3 separate regions of the Homo sapiens genome follow, and all the other regions are linked to region 1. The links are contacts of gene promoters, found by promoter capture Hi-C in blood cells and fetal thymus (Javierre and others, 2016). All regions are on one chromosome and are shown on one strand. Each heading gives the region's core, a stretch centred on a gene start or on the middle of the fragment in contact. The rest is flanking DNA. Distances are from core to core; before and after follow the strand shown.

What was found. The method cuts DNA at HindIII sites, captures the fragments that hold promoters and counts their contacts. A CHiCAGO score of 5 or more calls a contact.
Region 2: a contact is called between the fragment with the promoter of ZNF417 here and the fragment with the promoter of ZNF304 in region 1, in 4 of 17 cell types (non-activated CD4 T cells, total CD8 T cells, total CD4 T cells and 1 more). The highest score is 6.7, in non-activated CD4 T cells.
Region 3: the fragment with the promoter of ZNF135 here is called in contact with the fragment with the promoter of ZNF304 in region 1 in 3 of 17 cell types (naive CD4 T cells, total CD4 T cells and non-activated CD4 T cells); the score reaches 8.6 in naive CD4 T cells.

The regions. Positions count from the first base shown.
Region 1 is chr19:57,349,953-57,352,652 of GRCh38, reverse strand. It overlaps ZNF304 (zinc finger protein 304), which reads right to left and starts at 1,382. Exons shown (of 3, transcript NM_020657.4): 1 at 956-1,382. The coding sequence starts at 988. RefSeq lists enhancers at 1,080-1,149, 488-1,346, 1,300-1,389, 1,347-2,206. The HindIII fragment of the contact is 5,195 bases long and covers 1-2,700 here.
Region 2 is chr19:57,915,342-57,918,041 of GRCh38, reverse strand. It overlaps ZNF417 (zinc finger protein 417), which reads left to right and starts at 1,450. Exons shown (of 3, transcript NM_152475.3): 1 at 1,450-1,663. The coding sequence starts at 1,631. RefSeq lists enhancers at 1,074-1,133, 530-1,385, 1,404-1,693. The HindIII fragment of the contact is 13,199 bases long and covers 1-2,700 here.
Region 3 is chr19:58,057,956-58,060,655 of GRCh38, reverse strand. ZNF135 (zinc finger protein 135) reads right to left here and starts at 1,374. Exons shown (of 5, transcript NM_001289401.2): 1 at 1,346-1,374; 2 at 621-687. The coding sequence starts at 653. The HindIII fragment of the contact is 3,956 bases long and covers 1-2,376 here.

The sequences.
Region 1 (2,700 bases), core at 133-2,632:
GAAAGCCAGAGAGAGCATGTTAAAATCTGAGTCAGATCATCTCCCTCCTCTGCTCCAAATCTCCCACGACTTTTACCACACTCAAGACACCTCGGCCAGCCATTCCTGCCTAACTCCTTCCTCTGATACCTGTTTCCAACAAAGGTAATTAAGACCTGAGATTCCCTGAGCGCTCCAAACTCAATCCTACAAGCATTTGAGCGTACCTGTTCCTAGGTCTGATATACTTTTGCAGTACTCATCCCATTGGTCGCCAGGTGGGGACTTCTCCACATAACTCCATACAACTCATGGCCTGGATTCAGGACACTAAACTAGAAATGACCTCCATTCACTGCCCCCTGTCTCAAGTGAAGACAGTCATGTGAAGAATCCCAGGATATCATCACTATGTCTCATCAGAGAATCTGGTCAGCCTTCCTTATAAAATACATACAAAACCCAAAACCCATACATTCTCTAACCTCTGCTGCCACCACTCTGGCCCAGACCATCAACGCTCACCTGGACTATTTCAGTAGACTTCATCTTGATCTCCCCGTCTACCCTATAATCCCTAGTCTACCCACTCTGCAGCCAGAGGGAGCCTTTTAAGAACTGCGTCAGAGGACCTCCCTTCTCTGTACCAAACCTTGCATGACTCCCAGCACCCTCAGAAGAGAGGACCAGCTCCTCGGGCGGCCATTCCAGGCCTACCTCTGACCCCCTAGTCCCTGTTCTCACCAGGCACAGAGAGTTCCCGGAACTCCCCAAACTCATTCTCCTCTCCATGCATGCATTTGTACGAACTGCCCCTGCGCCTTCGAGTCCGTTCCACACCTTATGCCACTGATGAGGGGAGCGGAACCCCTCCACATAATGCGACGGAGTGAGCACCCTGAAGTGCGCGATGAGAGCGAACATCCCAGGACACACCAACCAGGCCGGGGTGCGCTTGAGGGATGCCCCCACTCACCTGAACCCGGTCCATCAGCACCGCCGCTGCCATGAGAAGCGGATGAACAGTCTGTGCCCTGTGGGCTCAGCCGAAACCCCACGCCTCCACCGCGCTGGACGCCCTCGGGCTGAGTGTAGCACTCCAAGTCTCAATCTACCCGGTGTAAAAACGCTCACAAGACTAAGGCGGCTGCTTCTGGGGGAGACAAGGACAAGAGGACGTGTGTGGAGGCCTCGGTAAGAGCCCAGCCCCGGCAGACACCTCCGCGAGAGGCCGCCCGTCCCACGACAGGGGTCATGGATTGTAACAAAAGCGCGAAGGAAGGTCCTGCAGTCTTCACTGTCTTTCTTTGCTAGGTTCCACGAGAGCCGCGTAGAAAGCCGACCCGATCTCTAGAACTCAGCCTTCACAACCAGAATGCACGGACCGGGCATAGGAAAAATACGTCACGACGGCGACGCCAGAAGTCTCGCCCCTGCAGCCCAGAGCAGCAGGAAACGCCCAGTTTCTGGGCTGTCATTGGCTGCACGCCGGCTAACAATGAGCTGGGCACAGATTTCTGGGTAACGTAGTTTGTACCCTGCATCCAACCAGGCAACGAGCGCCTTTCGGGTTCTCCCGGATGTCTGCCAAGAGGCGTCGTGCAGGGAGGGGGAGAAAAGACTGGGAAAACGATATCTCGGAGGCCACAGCTGCTTTTAAAGGGTATGCACCCTGATTTCCATGGCCACCTGGGACAATGCCACGCCACTGAAGTCGCCAGCAAGGGACCCATTCTTCAATCCTGCTTCTGAGGCCCTGGGAAACCTGCTTCACCTCTCTCAGATTTGGGGATTGAAACGTATTAATAAATTGAACGTTGTCTGTATTTCGTTTGTGGGCCTTTTTGTAAAACATTGAATGTCCTTCTAATTTTTCTAACATATAAAGAAAAGAGATGTAATTAGCTACCTTTCTGCTGGCTGTACAGGAAGCATGGTGCCCGTATCTGCTTCTGGTGAGGCCACAGGGAACTTTTATTCATGGCGAAAAGTGAAGGAGGAACTTACATGTAACATGACGAAAACATGAGCCTCTTCTAATTCATTGCTTCCCAATTTGATATGTAGTTTTACAGCATCAGCTTCACTATGAACTTAAAAAACCTGTGAATTCTTGGACCCAACCTATACCTTCTGATAAACTCTGGGGATGGGACCCTAGCTGAAGTTCAAGAACTGGAGGTCTTTTAAAGTCATTAGCCAAAAACAAAACAAAACAAAAACAAACAAAAAAAAATCAGTAAGATGAAAAACACTACAACCAACCTCATTAGGAATATGGGAAGTGAGGTAAAAAGTACTTAACACCAGGCCTGGCACATCGTGCTAAATACATACAAGCTGTTATCAGTCTTCCTCAACACAAGGTTCTCACATACACTGCTTTAGGAAGATAAATCAAAGATCCACCTTTTCAGGATCAGTGTGATTTTGAAAAAAAAAGAAAAAAGTACAATTATTCCCTCACTCATCAAATAGCATCATAGATAATAGTTATAATTTTTTTTTGAGACAGAGTTTCACTCTTGTTGCCCAGGCTTAAGTGCAATGGCACGATCTCAGCTCACTGCAACCTCTCCCTCCCAGGTTCAAGCGATTCTCCTGCCTCGGCCTCCCGAGTAGCTGGGATTACAAGCATCCGCCACCATGCCCGGCTAATTTTGTATTTTTAGTAGAGATGGGGTTTCTCCGTGTTGGTCAGGCTGGTCTCGAACTCCTGAC
Region 2 (2,700 bases), core at 201-2,700, 570 kb before region 1:
GTTGCAGTGAGCCGAGATCGCGCCACTGCACTCGAGCCTGACCAAAGAGCGAGACTCCGTCTCATAAAAGAAAAAGTTTATTTTGCCAAGGTTGAGGACACATGCCCGTGACACAGCCTCAGGAAGTCCTGACGACATGTGCCCATGGTGGTTGGGGTACAGGTTGGTTTTATACATTTTAGGGGGACATGAGACATCAGTGAATATATGTAAGAAGTACATTGGTTCCGACCAGAAAGGCGGGAACAACTCGAAGCAGGGAGGGGACTTCCAGGTCACAGGTAGACAGGTAGAGAGACAAATAGTTGGATTCTTTTTAATTTCTGATAAGTCCTTCCAAAGGAGGCAATCAGAATAGGCATCTATCTCAGTGAGGAGAGGGAAGACTTTGAATAGAATGGGAGGCAAGTTTGCCCTGAGCAGTTCCCAGATTGACTTTTCCCTTTAGCTTAGTAATTTTGAGGCCACAAGATTTTCCTTTCACAGATTCTATCAGCAGGAGAGTTGTTTTCTGTAGGAATCACAGAGATTCAGCTTTGCACTCCTGCTATAGGGGAGCACATCCCTAACTTCCTTCATTTGCCTTAGGCACTCTAAGGCTTCTGAGGGCCTTCAGACACATTATAACACAACAACGCTTATCAGCCTCTGCTTCCAGTGCAGGTATTTTGCGACTGAACGACTGTTTCAAACGGTGTGGTAATTTGGATTTTTAGCCTTTAGGAGAATCCTAAATAATAGTTTTAGCTTGAGCTCCCTATTATTTACCTTGCGCTCCCCGAAATCTGAAACAGTATTTTTCCAGATTCTTGAGTGATTAGTTACAGACACTAGTCTCCAGGAATCTCAATACGGCTTCTAAGGCTAGGTGAGACCCCTCCTCTGCCCTAGAAAGGCGCCTTTTTTTTTTTTTTTTTTTTTTTTTTTTTTTTTTTTTTTGAGACAGAGTCTTGCTCTGTCGCGCAGGCTGGAGGGCAGTGGCGCGATCCCAGCTCACTGCAAGCTCTGCCTCCCAGGTTCACGCCATTCTCCTCCAGCCTCAGCCTCCAGAGTAGCTGTGACTGTAGGCGCCCGCCACCACACCCAGCTAACTTTTTTTTTTTTTGAATTTTTAGTAGACACGGGGTTTCACCGTGTTAGCCAGGATGGTCTCCATCTCCTGACCTCGTGATCCGCCCACCTCCGCCTTCCAAAGTGCTGAGATTACAGGCTTGAGCCACTGCGCCCGGCCAGAAGGGTGCGCTTTTTAAGGAGAACCCCTGACCTGATGGCGGGCTTTTCCTGCAGATGGACTCTGGGTATCGCTCTTTTTAGCGCCATGGAAAGTGGGGAACTACATTACCCAGAAAGCTCTGCGTTAAACGACAGCCGGTCAGAGCCAATGAGCACTCGGAAAGAAGGCATTTCCACGTGTGCACGTAACGTAAGGCTGAGACTTCCGGGGTCTCTAGTAGCGGCTGTGTATCGGTGACGCGGGTGTTTCCCCAGTTTGTGGCCCCTGAGTGCTGGGGGGGGACCGCGGTGACTGAACCTAGAAGGTGGAGAGGAATCGTCCTCGGTGCCCAGAGGCGGCTCTGCAGCCCCGTGACGGCGACCACTGCTCCCGGGCCGTGCTTCCCCAAGTAGTCCGATGGCAGCGGCTGCGCCGAGGCGCCCGACTCAGGTAATTGTGGCGCCTTCTGTGCCCTCAGGTCACCCCATCGTCACCCAGGTCCTAAACCAGCGAGGGAGCGGCTCCTGCTCACGGGTCTGTAGCCGGTACCCGGCGTAGGAACACTGAGGCGCTCGCAGGAGGGGTCCCTGTGTAACTGTCCAGTGGGGGTCCCTGTGTAACTGTCCAGTGGGTTCACCTTGCCAGCTGCCTAGACAGAGCCGATTTATGAAGACTGGAGAATTGCGATGGAGAAATAGTAATTGACGCAGAGCCGTCAGGCTGTTCTGGAGACAGGAGTTTTATTATTACTCAAATCAGTCTCCATTAGCATTCCGGGATCAGAGTTTTCAACATTAATTTGGCGGTAAGGGTTGGGACCTGAGATGGATTCATAGAGGGTTAAAGTGAGTTTTTCATGCTGTTTTCTGTTCTGGGTGGGATGGCAGAACTGATTGACCCAGATTACCGGTCTGTGTGTTGTCAGCTGATCCATCCAGTGCAGGATCTGCAAAATACCTCAAGCACTGATCTTAGGTTTTACAATAGTGATTTATCTTCAGGAGCAACTTGGGGAGGTTCAGACTCTTGGAGTCAGAAGCTGCATGACCCCTAAACGGTAATTTCTAACCTTGTAGCTAATTCGTTAGTCCTGCAAAGGCAGGCTGTTCTCCAGGCAAGAAGGGGGTCTTTTCAGGAAAGGGCTATTATCAATTTTGTTTCAGAGTGAAACCATGAACTGAATTCCTTCCCTAAGTTAATTCAGCCTATACCCAGGAATGAACAAGGACAGCTGAAAGGTTGGAAGCAAGACGGAGTCAGTAAGGTCTGATTTCTTTCACTGTCATAATTTCCTCAGTTATAATTTTGCAAAGACGGTTTCACCTGTTTCTGACACCCGTGGGATGCGGTGGGGAGAGCAACAAGCACAGGGAGGGGCGCAGGCAATGGCCTGGAGATGGACGGAGCCGGGAGGATGGAACCTGTCTGGAACAAAGTGTGAGGTGGAGCTCTCCCTGGAAGAGTAAGCAGGCCGAGGGCTGTGCATT
Region 3 (2,700 bases), core at 125-2,624, 710 kb before region 1:
GAGGCTGGTTTCTTCTGGTGGCTTATGGGTGGGGTTAATGTCATCATAAAAAGGCGAGTTCCGCCCCCTTGGCCTCCATGACGTCTGAGGAAGCGGCACTCGATGCGCCATCTTGGAGCGCAGAGCATGCTAAGGCCTTCAACTTCAGACTGCAGAGCCGGGGCACCTACAATTTTCTGACATCACCCAGCCTCAGGTATGCAATGACGGCCGCACAAACATAAAGCCCACTCAGACAGGGACCCGTGCCCGCTGACCTCCAGCGCGGCGTGGGCGGTCCTTTCAGAGGCAGGCTGTGGTTGGGGAGCTTGGCGCGGACTTTAGGAGGCCGGGTGTGCAGGTAGAGGCCGGACACGAGTAGAGGCTAGATGTGCAAATAGAGGCCGGGCACGAGTAGAGGCCGGGCACCAGTAGAGGCCAGGTGCGCGAGTAGAGGCCAGTTGTGCGAGTAGAGGCCGGGCACGAGTAGGGGCCGGGCACGCAAGTAGGGGCCGGGCACAAGGAGGAGGCTGAGCGCGAGTAGGGACGGGGTGCAAAGAGGAGGCCGGGCGTGAGAAGGCCGCGCGCGAGGAGGCCGGGCACGAGGTGGAGGACACGCGCAAGGAGGCCGAGATTCTCACCGGGTCTGTGGAGACGCGCACCCCAGGGGTCATGCCCTGGCTTCTGGCAGGAACGGCTGGCCCTGCTCTGTGGGAAAGGGGAGGTGAGCAGCTGGGGCAGGCAGAGGCGGTGCTCAGGTCCCCAAGCCGGGGAACTGCGCCAGAGCCTGGGGAGCTCCGCGGAGAGCCGTCCAGGGCCCCGCGTACCCGTTTAAGCGCCTGCTGTGTGTGGGGCGGCCCTCCGCTCGGAGAAGGGCAGCCTAGGGTTTTCCCGCCTGTCTGAGGGAAGCTGAAGGCCTGGCGGGTGCGGACACATATCTGCTGCGCAGACTCTGAGCCTTAACGCTACAGTGACAAGGGCCGGGTGGTTGCGGTCCCCTGGCCCTGGGCACTATGCCTCAGTTTCTCTCTTCCATCAACAAAGGTGGCGGCCCAGTGCCCGGTGTGGGGCAGAGGTGGGGCCAGGGGCGGGGCGCGCGTTCCCTCAGGGGCCGTCGGAGCAGCTCCTGTCCAGCTGGGCGTTGGGCCCCGCCCTCCTCTCAGACTAGGGATGCCCCGCAAAGCCTGCCCCCGCCAGCCCCGAAACGGCCTTCCCCAGGCCCCGGGCAGCAAAACGGACTCCACACAGACGCGCGCTGCTGGAAACTCGCCCCGCCAGGGCCTCAGGAAGATCCCCGGACCCCCCGCACCCGGCCCGGCCCGGCCCGGCCTGGCCTCCCCTCCCCCTCCTCGCCGGCCTAGCTCACCCTCCTGACTGCGAGACAAAGGCCGCGGCACCGGCAGCCGACACTGCGCCGGCGCGAGCCTAACTCCATTTCCCAGAGAGCCGCGCGCGCATTTCCGGCCGCCCTCCCCCACCTCGCTCTCGCCCTTGGCGTTCGTGAGCTCTCAGTGCTGCTGGAGCTGGAGTGACTGGGCCTGGTGAAACAGGGCGCGCGGGGTGCCTGGGCATCAACGCGGGATAAGTGCCGCTTGGAACGCCGTGAGCTCCCGGCGCGACCACACGGGCTTTCGTGTTGGAAACTCTACCGTCAGTTTTACTGCTGCAAACAAAGCAATGATTTTTTCAAAACACATACTTTCAACCAAAACATTCACCAAGATCGCACACACGGGAGTCTTTGCATTTTCCACACTGAGGCAGCCATGGAGACTTCACACTGTATTTATTACATGGTTATAAGGAACATCACGTGCAAGACACTAACAATTATGACGACTTTGGACATTGCTAGGTAATTGTCAAAATTGTGCATTTGAACAGCAGCAAAATATTCAAAGCTGGTGTGCCCTCGCTGACACGAAATGAATTGTCATTTTCTGAACATTCACCAAAGCCTGCCAGGCGCTAGGCCTAGGTTCAGCAGCACACAATAGTGAAGCCCCCATTCAAGCGGGCTTCGTTTCACCAGCGTACGTCACACGTCCGTGGAGCAGCGAGACCAGAGGAGCTGGGAAAGCCAGGGCTGAGCCTTGTGCTTTTGCCCTTTTAAGGGAGGACAGATTAATTCCAATCAGCCTGGGCTTGGGAGCTGTATTTGAAGCAGAGGAAAAGTTTTAAGACGGGCATTTTTTTTTCTTTGACTGAAACAACTCTGAAAACAGCAGAGAACACAATACGAATTCTCGTACCACACACAGACACTTGCAAAGATTTGGCTGGTTAACACACAAGTTAAGACTTTAAATTTCATAAGCCCTAAAACAGTGGCAATTATGAAGAGATATAATGGCTCAAAATCATAATGCACTGATGTAAACAAAGCAAAGGCAAGCTTCTTGGCTTTTAAGGGCGTCCTGTACATTCCAAGTACTGTAAAGCCCCACATTTGTGACCGTCGCACTGAAAGCCAGCCTGCTTTTCACTCTACAGCAGTAAAGAGGCTTTCCATTATACATAAAATGCCGTTTTTCAGTTCTCGAACTCACAAACCCAAATGCCACAAAACATCTTTTTGTGTATTTTTTCTTTCACAAAATGTATACTCTTGCCCCCCACCCCCACCCCCAACCGTTTCCTTTTACTGGATCAAAAGGTATGAACACACAACTCATGGTGAAGTCTTTTTCCCAAGCGGTCTGATAGTCCTGGTGAGAAGCT